Linked DNA regions of Homo sapiens: regions 2 and 3 are each linked to region 1. The links are contacts of gene promoters, found by promoter capture Hi-C in human tissues and cell types (Jung and others, 2019). All regions are on one chromosome and are shown on one strand. Each heading gives the region's core, a stretch centred on a gene start or on the middle of the fragment in contact. The rest is flanking DNA. Distances are from core to core; before and after follow the strand shown.

Region 1 (3,978 bases), core at 1,012-3,511:
ATCTCCACTGTGGTCTCAGTTCCTTTAATGTAGCTTGTGCTCCTCATTCCTGGTAAAGCCTCCTCTCTAGCACTCCCCAGCCTGAGAGTGGTAGTACTTTCCTGCTAGTAACTATCATCGTGTTGCCTCATCATCCCCTAGTTGGCTTTTTAGTCATTTGAATCCTTTGTAATTTGTTCCCCATATTAAATTCTCTCTATTGAATTACAACATATAGATGCTATTTTTCTGAAAGAACTCTAAGATGTGTGTCGAGAGGAGGCAATCTCCCATATAAGGACCAGGTTCCCCAAAGAGAAAAGCCATTAGAGTTTGGCTGCCTCAGCTAATCTTAAAGTGGAGGAAAAAACAAACAAACAAACAAACAAACAAAAACAAAAAGTGCTGAGGAACACTGTACTTTAAACTATCAGAGAAATAATGTCTTTTTTATTGCTGTTTTTTAGAGACAGGGTCTCACTCTGTCACCCAGGCTGGAGTGCAGTGGTGTAATCATAACTCACTGCACCCTCAAACTTCTGGCTTCAAGCGATACTCCCTCCTGAGCTGCTGGGATTACAGGTGTGAGCCACCGCTCCTGGCCCTGGAAAATTACTCTCATTGAGCACCTGCGCCTGCATGCCTGGTCATGAATGTCAGCTGCTAACACTCTGGTAGCATGCCTACTCCTTCCTCCCATCCACATACTGTCTATGATTTCCTAGTCTCCTAAGACCTCCTTCTCAGTAAGGCCATCTTCCGAGGAGGAGCATCAACTCCTCCAACCTCCCAGCTCCTGGGTGTGCCTTGATACTTCCAAACTCACTGCAAGCGTCACTGGCACATGGTATGAAGCAGAGCGGGGGAGGCAGGACACAGAGCACTGGGTGTGACTGGGGAGGGCAGGCTTTCACAGCTTCCTCTGTGATGGTTTCTAATCCTTGCAGGCTCCCACCATTGGGTCTCTTTCCATCTGAAAATGGAGGAAATTAGACCAGCTGCCTAAAACATCAACTCTAATGTTCTAGGTTCTAAGATTCTGTGGTTAATTTAAGTGACAGAACCACATTATGGCTGCTGTTTCATCAGCACTGTGAAGACTGTACAAGCCACACCTCAGTATGTTGGCTGACCTTAAAAACACCTTGTCAGTACTTGATATAGACACTCGAAGTAATTCTAAGTTGCATCTTACTTTTCTTACTTACAATAAAATGCTGCTCTCTGATTATGAAGATTCATACTCCTTAGTACGAATGGTAAAGAATCATTTGTTTTCTCAGGTGGTCATTTCACTTTCAAAAGCATTTAAGAGGCAATTTTTTTAAGGGTGATATTTCAAGGTCAACACTTTCCGTGCTTTCTAATTCATTGTATTTGTATCATTCTTCAAAGATCCTTCATATTCATTATCTTTTTAAGCATAAGAGAATTGGGCTGTCATTTTTAGTTCTCATATGACACATGAATACACTGAGAGTTAGATTAAGTGAACTGTCTCTAGAGCATACGTCTGGCTATCTAGAATGTAATAACTATAAAGGGAGGGGATCTTTCTTATTAGGGTTGTGGGAAAGGTCTGTCACTGATGTTTCTAATGCTTAGAAGAGTGCCTGACACATAGTAGGTGTCAATAAACATTCGTTGACTCAATAAATGAATGAATCTAATTCGTGACAGAGCTGGGTCTAGAATTCTCTACTCCCTCAGCCATTGCTCCTTTAGTGCTGACAAGAGTTGTTCTATGTTCTCAAGCGCCCCACATTCCTTTGTCTTTTCTGGATGCACCTGTGGTTGGGTTTGTGAGGCGAGGCCAGTGAGCTTTCCTGGTGAGGTGCCACTGGCAACCCCGCCTCATAGCGACACAGGGGAGGGAAGCAGGGGGTCTGCGGAGGTTGCTCCCGAGAGACTAAAGCTGTTGCCCCCGATTTTCCAAGGACGCCAGTGAGGAAGGCCCGCCTGTCCCGCCGCCCGGGCACTGGCCTCACTTTGTCGCGGGAGGGGACCAGGGCTCTGGAGAAGGCCCGGGCCAGCGGCTGGGCGGGGCTCTCCGAGGCTCCCACCTCGCGGTCCCCGCCTGGCGGCCGGCGGCTGCGGCAGAAGGCGAAGCGGTCGTGCTCCCCCTCCCGGACACTGCGGCGGTGGCAGCGCCAGCCCCGCCGCGGCCGCCCACGGGCTCGCGGAGTCTGGCGGGACCTGCGCGGGGCGGGACCTGCGCGGGGCGGGGAGGAGGGGCCGAGGCGGAGCTGCTGCGCTGGGAGCCGGCTGGGGGCGCCGCTCTCAGTCTGGGGCGGGCGCTCGGGCTGCGCGGGCTCTGGGCAGCAGCAGCAGCAGCAGCAGCATCCTCTCTTCCTTTACTTCCCTTCCGCTTCTTTCTCTTCCTTCTCCTTCTTTTTCCCCCCCCTCCCCTTCTTCCCCTAACCCTTCTACCCCTCTCCTTTTTCTCCGGAGGGCGCTAAGTCCGTGAGCGGTGGCAGTCGCGACCGCGGGTGCATCCAGTTTCTGCGCCCAGGTAAGAGACCGTCCCCACCTCTGGCTCTATGTAGGGCGCCTCTCCTTTTGCCTCGGTCTCTGAGTAGAAAGAGATAGGAATGGGGAGGGGTTGTGTCTCGTCCTCTGGGACTCGCAGCAGGCAGTCTGGTAGTTGGTCGAGTGGCCAGCCGTGCACCTGGCGGAAGATTCGGGCCTGTCCTCTCCAGGTGTCACTGCGGAGCAGGGGGCCGGACGCTACTGGTACCTGAGCCCTGGCTTCGTAGAAGAGCGAGTGAGCTTGTTAGGTACCACTTTGAAACAACTGAAAACTTACGCCAGGTTAGAATACGTGTATCGAAAGCCAGTATTACCTGCGCTGTGGAAAGAAGGGGAGTGGATTCTACAAAGATAGTGGAAAATAGGAAATCGAGGTAGGGGATTTTTTTGTTCATCCAGCTGCAGAGAACTGCACACTGGGAAGTGAGTGAGTGAGGGAAGCCTTGTCCATTTCAAATCATGTTTCTCTGTAATTCCTTCAGAAACAGCTGGGAGAGGAGGACTGATATTTATAATTGTAGGAAAATGAAAAATAAATGCCTGGTGGTGTTGGAGGGCGGGGCACGAAGAAATGAGTCTGGTTAGGCTTCCACACAGTCGTTTTTCTTTTTAAACGTTGGGGGTGGACCTCTGAATCTACAGTGCATCTATTCTTTTCTTCCTTTTCTTTTTAAAAGGCTTTTTTGGTGGGGAGAGGAGGACTGCAGTGCTGGCTGCCTGCCTTCCCCCACCTCGTCTTTTGTTTAAGGATGGAAATTTCAAGAAAGAGTGTGTGGGGGGCTAGGAGTGGGGAGCTGTATATTTGGGTGTGTATAGGGGGAGGGGTATGGATGGAGTCAGAAAAAAAATCCTTGAAAACTGGAAATTAATGTTATTCTGCCTGGCATCCGGACTTCAGGATTTTTGTCAGAAAATAAAAAGCTTTCATTAGCAACAAGCCCGTTTGTGACAATTGCTGTGTGCCATCTGTCGTAAGCTCTTAGCACAATGCTTCCAGGACATAGACGCTTTAAAATTGAGTCCGGTGTAAAGGGTTTTTGTTTAAATGCCTAAACACACAAGTATGCACACAAATGTATAATACACTATATACATGTTACAAAAGGAAATAGGTACTTAAGAGACTGATTTTTTAAAATTGTATTTGAGGGTTTGGAAATTATGTTGTGAATAAAATCTGTAGTGCAAAACAAAAAAATATTGTTGGGTGGTATATAATTTTGGGTGTGAGGCAAAGGGATTGATGACTGTTGGTAAGGAACTAATTTAAATGTTAAAGGTATAATTTATTTTAAAATGATCAGTCTAGAAAAGGAAATGATTGCAAACTGAAATTGAGGTTTGCAGCCACAGTGAGGCGATGGAGAACAAAGCCTTCTATGTGAGCCACATTATGCAAAATGTCCCATGCATGAGCTGCAGGTACCAGCCCAGTTCAAAAGCATAGTTCTTTCACTATGTCATTTCACT
Region 2 (3,978 bases), core at 628-3,127, 280 kb after region 1:
CTTCTGCCTCAGCCTCCGGAGTAGCTGGGATTACAGGCGTGCACCCAGCTAATTTTTTTTTTTTTTGTATTTTTAGTAGAGACGGGGTTTCACCATCTTGGCCAGGCTGGTTTTGAACTCCTGACCTCGTGATCCACCTGCCTCAGCCTCCCAAAGTGCTGGGATTACAGGCATGAGCCACTGCACCCGGCCTGCTATCTACTTATTACTCTTCTTCAAATACATATTTTTTCCTAAGTTTATAAAACTGGTAAAACAAAGGAATGAAACTTGTTGGAAACCATCATAAAAACCCCTACAAATATCTGTAATGCCAACTTTTTTCTAAATTTCAGGGCAAAGTATTTATTTTATATGTTTAATTATACTAGGATAATCTTACCTTACACTATATTTTATTTTAGCATTTATTAAGTGGCATGCTTGTAGTCTACAAAATGACAGATTGCTAAATCAGAAAAGAATGTTTTTCTTTCCATTGTACATCATCAATGCCTCTATATAAATCTTCGGATGGTTTTAAAGGTTAAGAGGAACATTAGCCTTTGTGAGAAAGAGAAAATCAAGGTAACTGATGGTTTTATTTTAGCCATTGAAAATTCCAAGTATTTTGTATTTGTGTTCTTCATCTAGAAATCATATCATGTGCTTTCCTTCAAAAACAAGAATCTAAGGCAGGATTTGAAAATAGAAGGCTTGTATATACGCACACCTTGATAAAGCTTCAGGATGAAGAATATATCTGAAGCTAGGAGTTAGGAATTAACGTGACATACCTCAATTCATTTTCTCAGGTTTTTAGCTTCATTAAACTTAGAACTTCATTAAACTTAATAGCAAATTAATAGCTTCATTAAACTTAGTAGCAAAATTGCTTGGGCAAGCAGAATCTCTTGATTTAGCATAAAAACTCTATAACCTACCTAAAAGGATGAAAGATGTCATCAGGATTGTGGAATTTTAGAGAAAACGTAAAATGGTTTAGTAAAGTGTTTACATGTCATTGGTATTCAATTTGCCACATTTAAAGTAAATTGTGTTTTTATTCATTCTTTGAAAGAAATTTAAAATCTTTGAACTAATGAAGATTTTCCTTTATTCTGGTCTAATGTTAAGATACTTTAGGAGAAAGCATGTATCAGATGTAGGTGTCATTGGTTTGAAGCAAGCTATACATGTCACAAGAATTTGAGTTATATTACAGAGATAGTAGTAAGGCATCGTTTTCACTGCTTCCTTAAAAACAATGAGTCCTAGAATCTGAAAAATCTCACTAGCTAGTCCTACATGGCATAAAGCATATTGTAGACAGTTATTATGTTTGTGTCAGAACTGTACCTGTCATAAAAATACCTTTTTAGAACTTATTCAGAGGGCTTATAAGGATACATTTTTTTTCTGAGGGTTTCTATTTTATGAATGAAAATTAAGGAGGAATAAACACACAAGCTTGATTATTTTATCTTCTAAGCCCAATTTTCAAACATAGATGGTTTTCCAAACCACAAGGGATTGTTTTAAATCATGAGAGCTAAGCTACCTCAGGTAAGTCATCAACCAAAATGTGCTAGAGATAATGGAGTTTAAAATTGAATCCAGAAGCATAAAACAGCAGCAAGAGAAACAACAGTAACAGATGTGGTAATAATTTCATACAGGAAGTGCATGTGTAGAACATGTTCTGTATTTACTGAACTTAAATTTTCTCTCGTGTTTTCTGTTCTTGACAAGCTATTTTTCTTCCCTTCTCATGTGGCATTTTCACATCAAACAAGTATGTCATTCATATTGTGAAATGAAGGGATACAAAGGGAAAGGGGTTAGCTGATCATGACAGTTTGAAATGTAAAATACCGAAATATCTATGGTTATGCCAGTGGCTTCCAGAACAAGAAGAGGGTTTGGAAATCTCTATGAACCCTCTTCTATATATCATGTGAACCCCAGAAACCAATCAGTGTTCTTTTTCTTAAATTTTGCAACATTCACATTGCTATTCTGTAACTTCTGTTCTAAAGGATCTCCTTACGTACTAGTGATTCAAAGATACATTGGTAATCAATAGAAAAATTACGTGGTGTGCTTACCTGCACTTTGGTAGACAATGGGTTATATTAATTAGCACACACTATTTGTTGGAGCCACATGCTATGTTATTGTTATTCATGTTACTTGAGTTATTGAATTTGAGTCTCATAATAAGCAAACTTTTGCTTTGCATTAGTCTGTTGACACAACAGAATATCCTACAGGTATTTAAAACTGCATTTATGACTTTTTAGCAACTAAGTTTGGGGTTGTTTGTCTTTTATTTTCAACAGCAGCAGGTGGGGAATCAGCTCTGGCTCCCAGTGTATTTAAACAGGCAAAGGACAAAGTCTCTGTGAGTAAAATAAGTTTTTCCTTGTTCTTCATTTGAAGTTCCTTTGGTATTAGCTGTAACATCAGAATAACTTTTGATATTGTTTAGATATTTACTCTTAAAAGTCACTTTAAATAGTTCGCTCACCCAGAAGATTCTCCGTGGCATCCAGGCATGGAAGGATGAACGTCTTCTGGGATGGCGTATGATGGTAATTGGTGAGGGCACAGCTGGACTGCTTCCTTACTAGTAAGACAAAAACATAGAAAGCAGCACAATGATATGGCAAAAGTAAGGAAGTCCAGTTTAGTTACTTTTCATAGAATCAAATTAAACCATATAATCAACAGTAACTGTATTTTATAATACACTTTCATTGTTTTTGTTACAAAATAGAAATATGACCAAATGAAGCACTGCACACAAGCAGAAAGAAGTAGAAATCAATTATAATCCTCTTATCATAAAGATAAACACAGCTATCATTTTGATGTAAAATCCTAATTTTTTTCTATACATTTATAGGCTTAACAACAAAAATGAGAACACTGTGTATCACTTTTTAAATTCAACAGTAAATGTACTTCCATGTCGTTGAACATTTTGTAAGTTTTAATGACTACGTAATACTGCATTTTATTTCTTTGCAATGATATACTTAATCAATTTCCTATTATTTGACTTTTAGAATTTTTTGTTGGTATTTTAACAATATTACTGTAGAGAACTTTTTGGCTAAGTTCAGTTTGTATGCTATTTCCTTCATTTTCTACTAGTGAAATTATTGTTTCAAGAAAAATGTTAATATTTAAAGTTTTTGCTGCATATTGTCAAATTGCCCTCTGGAAAGGTTCTACCCACTTATACATTCTGTATAAGGAGAGTGTTCATATTTGTTATTATTACTACATATTTTATATTGTTGTTGTATATTTGCCAAATTATAGAGATGGCATATATTATTATTTTAAAATTTTATTTTGGTTGTATTAATGGTGTTTAACTTCTTCATATGTTTGTAAATCTTTTCTATTTTTTCTGTGAATTTTATTTTTATATTATTAACTGTATTTTAATGACCAAAGCCAACATGAAGTATTTTCACTCCTTTATGATTGAAAGAAAAAAATTAAAAGGCTACTAATGAAATCCTAAAATTATAACAAATAATTTGAATGATATTAATTAGTAGCTTATAACAACATTCTGAGACTGAGCAAACACATGTAATATGTAAATCACAATTCTTAGCTTACCCTTCTAAAAAACCAATAAGATTTTAGACTTCCACTTTTATTTATTATGAAAAGTAGTGAGTGATTCATTTCTTTGATCTTGAACCTGAGGGGTTTTATGTTGATAAAAGATGATACTTGATTTTTATACAAATGTTTCAGATATATTCCTGAACATATGGCAAGCAACAGAATTCATTTATTGCTTTGGTGAATATTAGGCTTTATTATAAACACATTGTGATTTCAAGATTTGTATCTCTTTACCTTCTGTTTCCAAATTAATGATGTATGGTGGTTGGCCGTAGGGCTATGAAACAAATCATGTTCAAATCTTGAACATCTATTAGTTATATGATCCTTTTCTTCCTATTTCTTAAT
Region 3 (3,978 bases), core at 472-2,971, 260 kb after region 1:
AAAGGATTAATTATTGCATCTCATTTTTCTATTGTTTGATCTTTAGCAGCTGAAGAAACAGCTAATCTGCCTCCTTCTCCACCCCCATCACCTGCCTCAGAACAGACTGTCACAGTGGAGGAAGGTAAGGCCTATTGGACTTTTCAGGGTTTGTCTTCTGTTAAAGTGTGAACAATAAACTTCAATCAATAAGCTCTGGACTTTGGTATTGGTTAGTATGTGACCAAGCTTTGGAGCTATCTGTTTCAAATAATGAAGAAGAAACAAAGACTTTAAATAAATAATCACTTATTTTTATAAAAGCAAAAGTAGAGGAATTTGGTAAATAAAAAAGAAATCTGCTTGATTAAGGAAAAGAATTTTGTGTTCAGTTGCTAAAATAACTGTAGAGACCCCATTCACTTTAGAATGCTTTAACAGGGAAGATACAATTCTACCTTGTAAGTGACTGAACAAAAATTAAAATAAATATAAATGTAATCTCCATAATAGTAGGGGTCAGATTTATCAATGAAATCAACACTTCCTTATGAAAGTGTCAGGAATTATCTCTGTTTTGCTCACTGTTATATTGCCAAGACCTTCCCCAGGGCCTGACTCATAGCAAATTTAATAAATATTAATGAATAAATGAAGAAGTTAATGAATGAATCTGATATTGAGAGCATTGAACTGGAAGCTGAGCTCATGACTCTTTCCTGTTGAGACCTGTTATTGTCCATGGATCTTTTTATGAACTTACTCAACATGGAATGTCATGTTAGCTTTTCAATTCTCATTGATACAACAGAAAGATGCCTTTGAAGAATTTTCATTCAGAATCTGAGATGAAAGGCACTACTTAAAAGGAAACCATTACTGGTTCTCCGACTTAGTCCAGTTAACCTTTGTTTATTGTTTGAGAGTCACAGGAAAAGGCAGAGAAGAACTAGGGCTCCATTGTTGTTTCAACATTACTTAGTTTTCATATATTAAAACCAGAATTTTAAAAGTGTTTATTTTATTCATTTATTCATTTATTTTTCCTTTTTACTGTGTTAAAGACTGAAGAACATTTATTTTAAAAGACTTGTCTTTTTATCATTTGTAATTAGGTTCATTTAAAATATTCTTTGATTTCGTAAATACAAAAATTTGAATTAGTGAACCATATATTATCACCTCTAATATAATTTTATTTTGTCACAGATTTATAAACCTAAATTTATTTTAGCAAGGTTTTTCTTTCTTAAATTGAAGCTTTTTTTTTCCAATTTACTGCCTGAAATAATAAACAAACTAAATTTTTCTGAGGAATAAAAGAAACTTTGGGGATAATAATCAGTGCATAGCAGCCACTGATTATTAGTTAATGTGATTTAATCTTTTAATTTATAGGTTTGAAAAGTTCCTTTTGACCTTATGTTTATCCATTCACTGGGCACATATTTATTGAGCCCTACAGTCTTCCAGGTACTCTTCAAATTCTGAGTATATACTAGTGAACAAAACAGACATGATCCCTGCTTTTAAAGAGTACACTATAGCCGGTAATCCCAGCACTTTGGGAGGCCGAGGCGGGCAGATCACTTGAGGTCAGGAGTTCAAGATCAGCCTGGCCAACATGGTGAAAACCCGTCTCTACTAAAAATACAAAAATTAGCCAGGCATGGTGGCGTACGCCTATAATCCCAGCTACTCGGGAGGCTGAGGCAGGAGAATCACTTGAACCCAGAAGGCGGAGGTTGCAGCGAGCCAAGATGGCACCATTACACTGTAGCCTGGTGACATAGCGAGACTCCATCTCAAAATAAATAAATAAATAGTACACTATCTAGTGGAGAACAGAAATCCAATAAATAAGCTTACCAATAATTTCAAATTGGATTAGCATTGAAGAGGAAAAGAATAGGGAGCTTTAAAATATTACAAGAGAAACCTGATTTTATTGGGTGGTGAGGGGATGGCTAAGTAGCTGAGACCAGAAGCATGAGGAGGAAGTGTTGGCCAAATAAAGATAGAAAAAAGCACAAGGGCGCTCAGGTGCCCAAGAAGATGAAGTGACCCAGGAACTGAAGGGGGTCCGTGGCTGATGGGTAGTGAGAAAGGGTAGAGCAGTGGAGTGTGAGAGTAAGCAGTGGTCAGCTGGGGTCAGTGGCCTAGATTTCATTCTGAATGCAGCGGGAAGCCTGACATGACCCTTGTACCTCCTTCAGGCCATGGAAAATGTTTCTAAGCTCCTACTTAAAGCTTTTCAAGCATCAGAGAATCCTCTTAACCCAGAGAGGGATATGATGTTGACAGAGCAGGTTTACTCCAAAAGTCGGCTTGAGGTCAAGTCATTTAATCTTCTTACTCTATATGGGATTTGGAACAGAAAGGGAAGAAGCAGAGTCCTCCCATCCATCTGGGAATTCACCCAGCCTGCTTCCTGTAGGGTAATATGATGGATATAATGAAAACATAAATAAATAAAATGTAGAATCACCTTCACATTTTGGTAACTTAGGTGTCAACTTTCCAGAGTTCCCTAATATTTTGGAATTACTTTCTTCAAGCTGTTTCAAGATATTCAAGGAAAATACCACCTAACCTCTTATTGAAAGTAATTCAAAGTTATTTTCAAGCCAAACTTGTGTTTTTAACTTTTTGAGTATTGAACTATCTGAAGTTCTGATTATTTGATTTTAAAAGTATAACCATTTTTTGAGTTTTAAGAAAAACAGATGTATATATTTTATAAACTCTATCTCTATAAAGACCAGATAATATTCTCACCTTAAATATGTAAAAGATTTGTGGTCTAGACAAACTACTGTTTCTCTTTTATGTTAAGCCACACTTAAGTAATATACAAGTATTTTTTAAGTTTAGTTTTGTCAGAAAATAAATTAGTGACAAGTCACAAGACAGGATTGAACTGTTCAATTTTTCAAACCAAGTAGTTTGTAAATACTCAGCCCAAATTCCATCAATATATTGCTTATAGCAGGTCAGGTGGAAAGGGAGCAGGTGGATTTTTTTGCCTTATCTAGGGGATTATTTACCCTCCTTGATACCCTCAAAGCAACTTTAATCTGAGGGTATAGTGACTGCTGCAGTCTGATCCTTTTATACAAATGGAAGAAAGCTCTTTTGTTAGATTAATTCAGCGATTTTGAGGATACATTTTCTTTTTGTTAATTATCAAACTTTTTAAAGCTGTTCTTTCCCAAAGGGGAAGCATGAAAGCTTCCACTAAAAATTTAAGATGTTAATTACTATAATTTATGAATATTTATTATAATTAATGTAATATTAGTAATTCCCAGGATATGTGCTTATTCTAGAAAACATTTACAAGGGATTTTGATGAAAAAAAAGGAAACAAGCTGCACACTTAGAAAAGGATCTACGGTACAGTAAACCAAACCTGTACTGATTATGATGTTTTCAAATTAACCTCCTTTTTCTTTTTGGCCTAATCATAATAGTTGTCATTTGGACTGAGCTATTAGAATTTGGAAGGCTGTGAAGGAATGGAATAATCTGAACACAGAACCAGGATTCTTTCTGCCCTTTTAGGTTTGCTCCAGAATTCTAGGGTGGTGTTTTCCTGTGTCATGGATGTGGTGACCTAATCATCGCGCATCTGAAAGTAGTTTTCTCTTTATGTCATTCTGGGGCAGCAGTAACAGTCAGCAGACTGAGAAGTCCTCAGTCAAAAGCTGGCAGAATGGAAAGGGCTTGGAAATGGTGGAGAACAATGTAAGTGCGGCCAGCAGCCATCGACCATATGCTGTGATGCCACAACAAGCAAAAAGTACCGAATCACTAACATTCCACAAGATGCAGTCTCCAAAGGAGGCTGGTATACTAAGGCTGGGTTTTACATGGCAAACCTTACATTAGCCCAGTGTAAATTTTCAAATGCTTTATTTAAAAGAAAAAGTTTCAATGAAAGCAAACTAGGGAAACTTTATTCCTCCATTGAAACCAGGTAAGCTTTATTTTTGAAGA

What was found. The method cuts DNA at HindIII sites, captures the fragments that hold promoters and counts their contacts. A contact is called where the count stands out against the background at its distance.
Region 2: a contact is called between a fragment that was not itself captured here and the fragment with the promoter of MAP2 in region 1, in 1 of the 25 tissues and cell types used here (hippocampus).
Region 3: a contact is called between a fragment that was not itself captured here and the fragment with the promoter of MAP2 in region 1, in 1 of the 25 tissues and cell types used here (hippocampus).

Annotation. Positions count from the first base shown.
Region 1 is chr2:209,421,786-209,425,763 of GRCh38, forward strand. MAP2 (microtubule associated protein 2) reads left to right here and starts at 2,262. Exons shown (of 16, transcript NM_001375505.1): 1 at 2,262-2,491. RefSeq lists a silencer at 1,943-2,332. The HindIII fragment of the contact is 7,301 bases long and covers 1-3,978 here.
Region 2 is chr2:209,697,956-209,701,933 of GRCh38, forward strand. It overlaps MAP2 (microtubule associated protein 2), which reads left to right. Exons shown (of 16, transcript NM_001375505.1): 11 at 2,322-2,383. Among named protein-coding and RNA genes, the nearest start is that of UNC80, 72 kb to the right of the region's middle. The HindIII fragment of the contact is 5,822 bases long and covers 1-3,978 here.
Region 3 is chr2:209,680,704-209,684,681 of GRCh38, forward strand. It overlaps MAP2 (microtubule associated protein 2), which reads left to right. Exons shown (of 16, transcript NM_001375505.1): 7 at 47-124. Among named protein-coding and RNA genes, the nearest start is that of UNC80, 89 kb to the right of the region's middle. The HindIII fragment of the contact is 3,730 bases long and covers 1-3,586 here.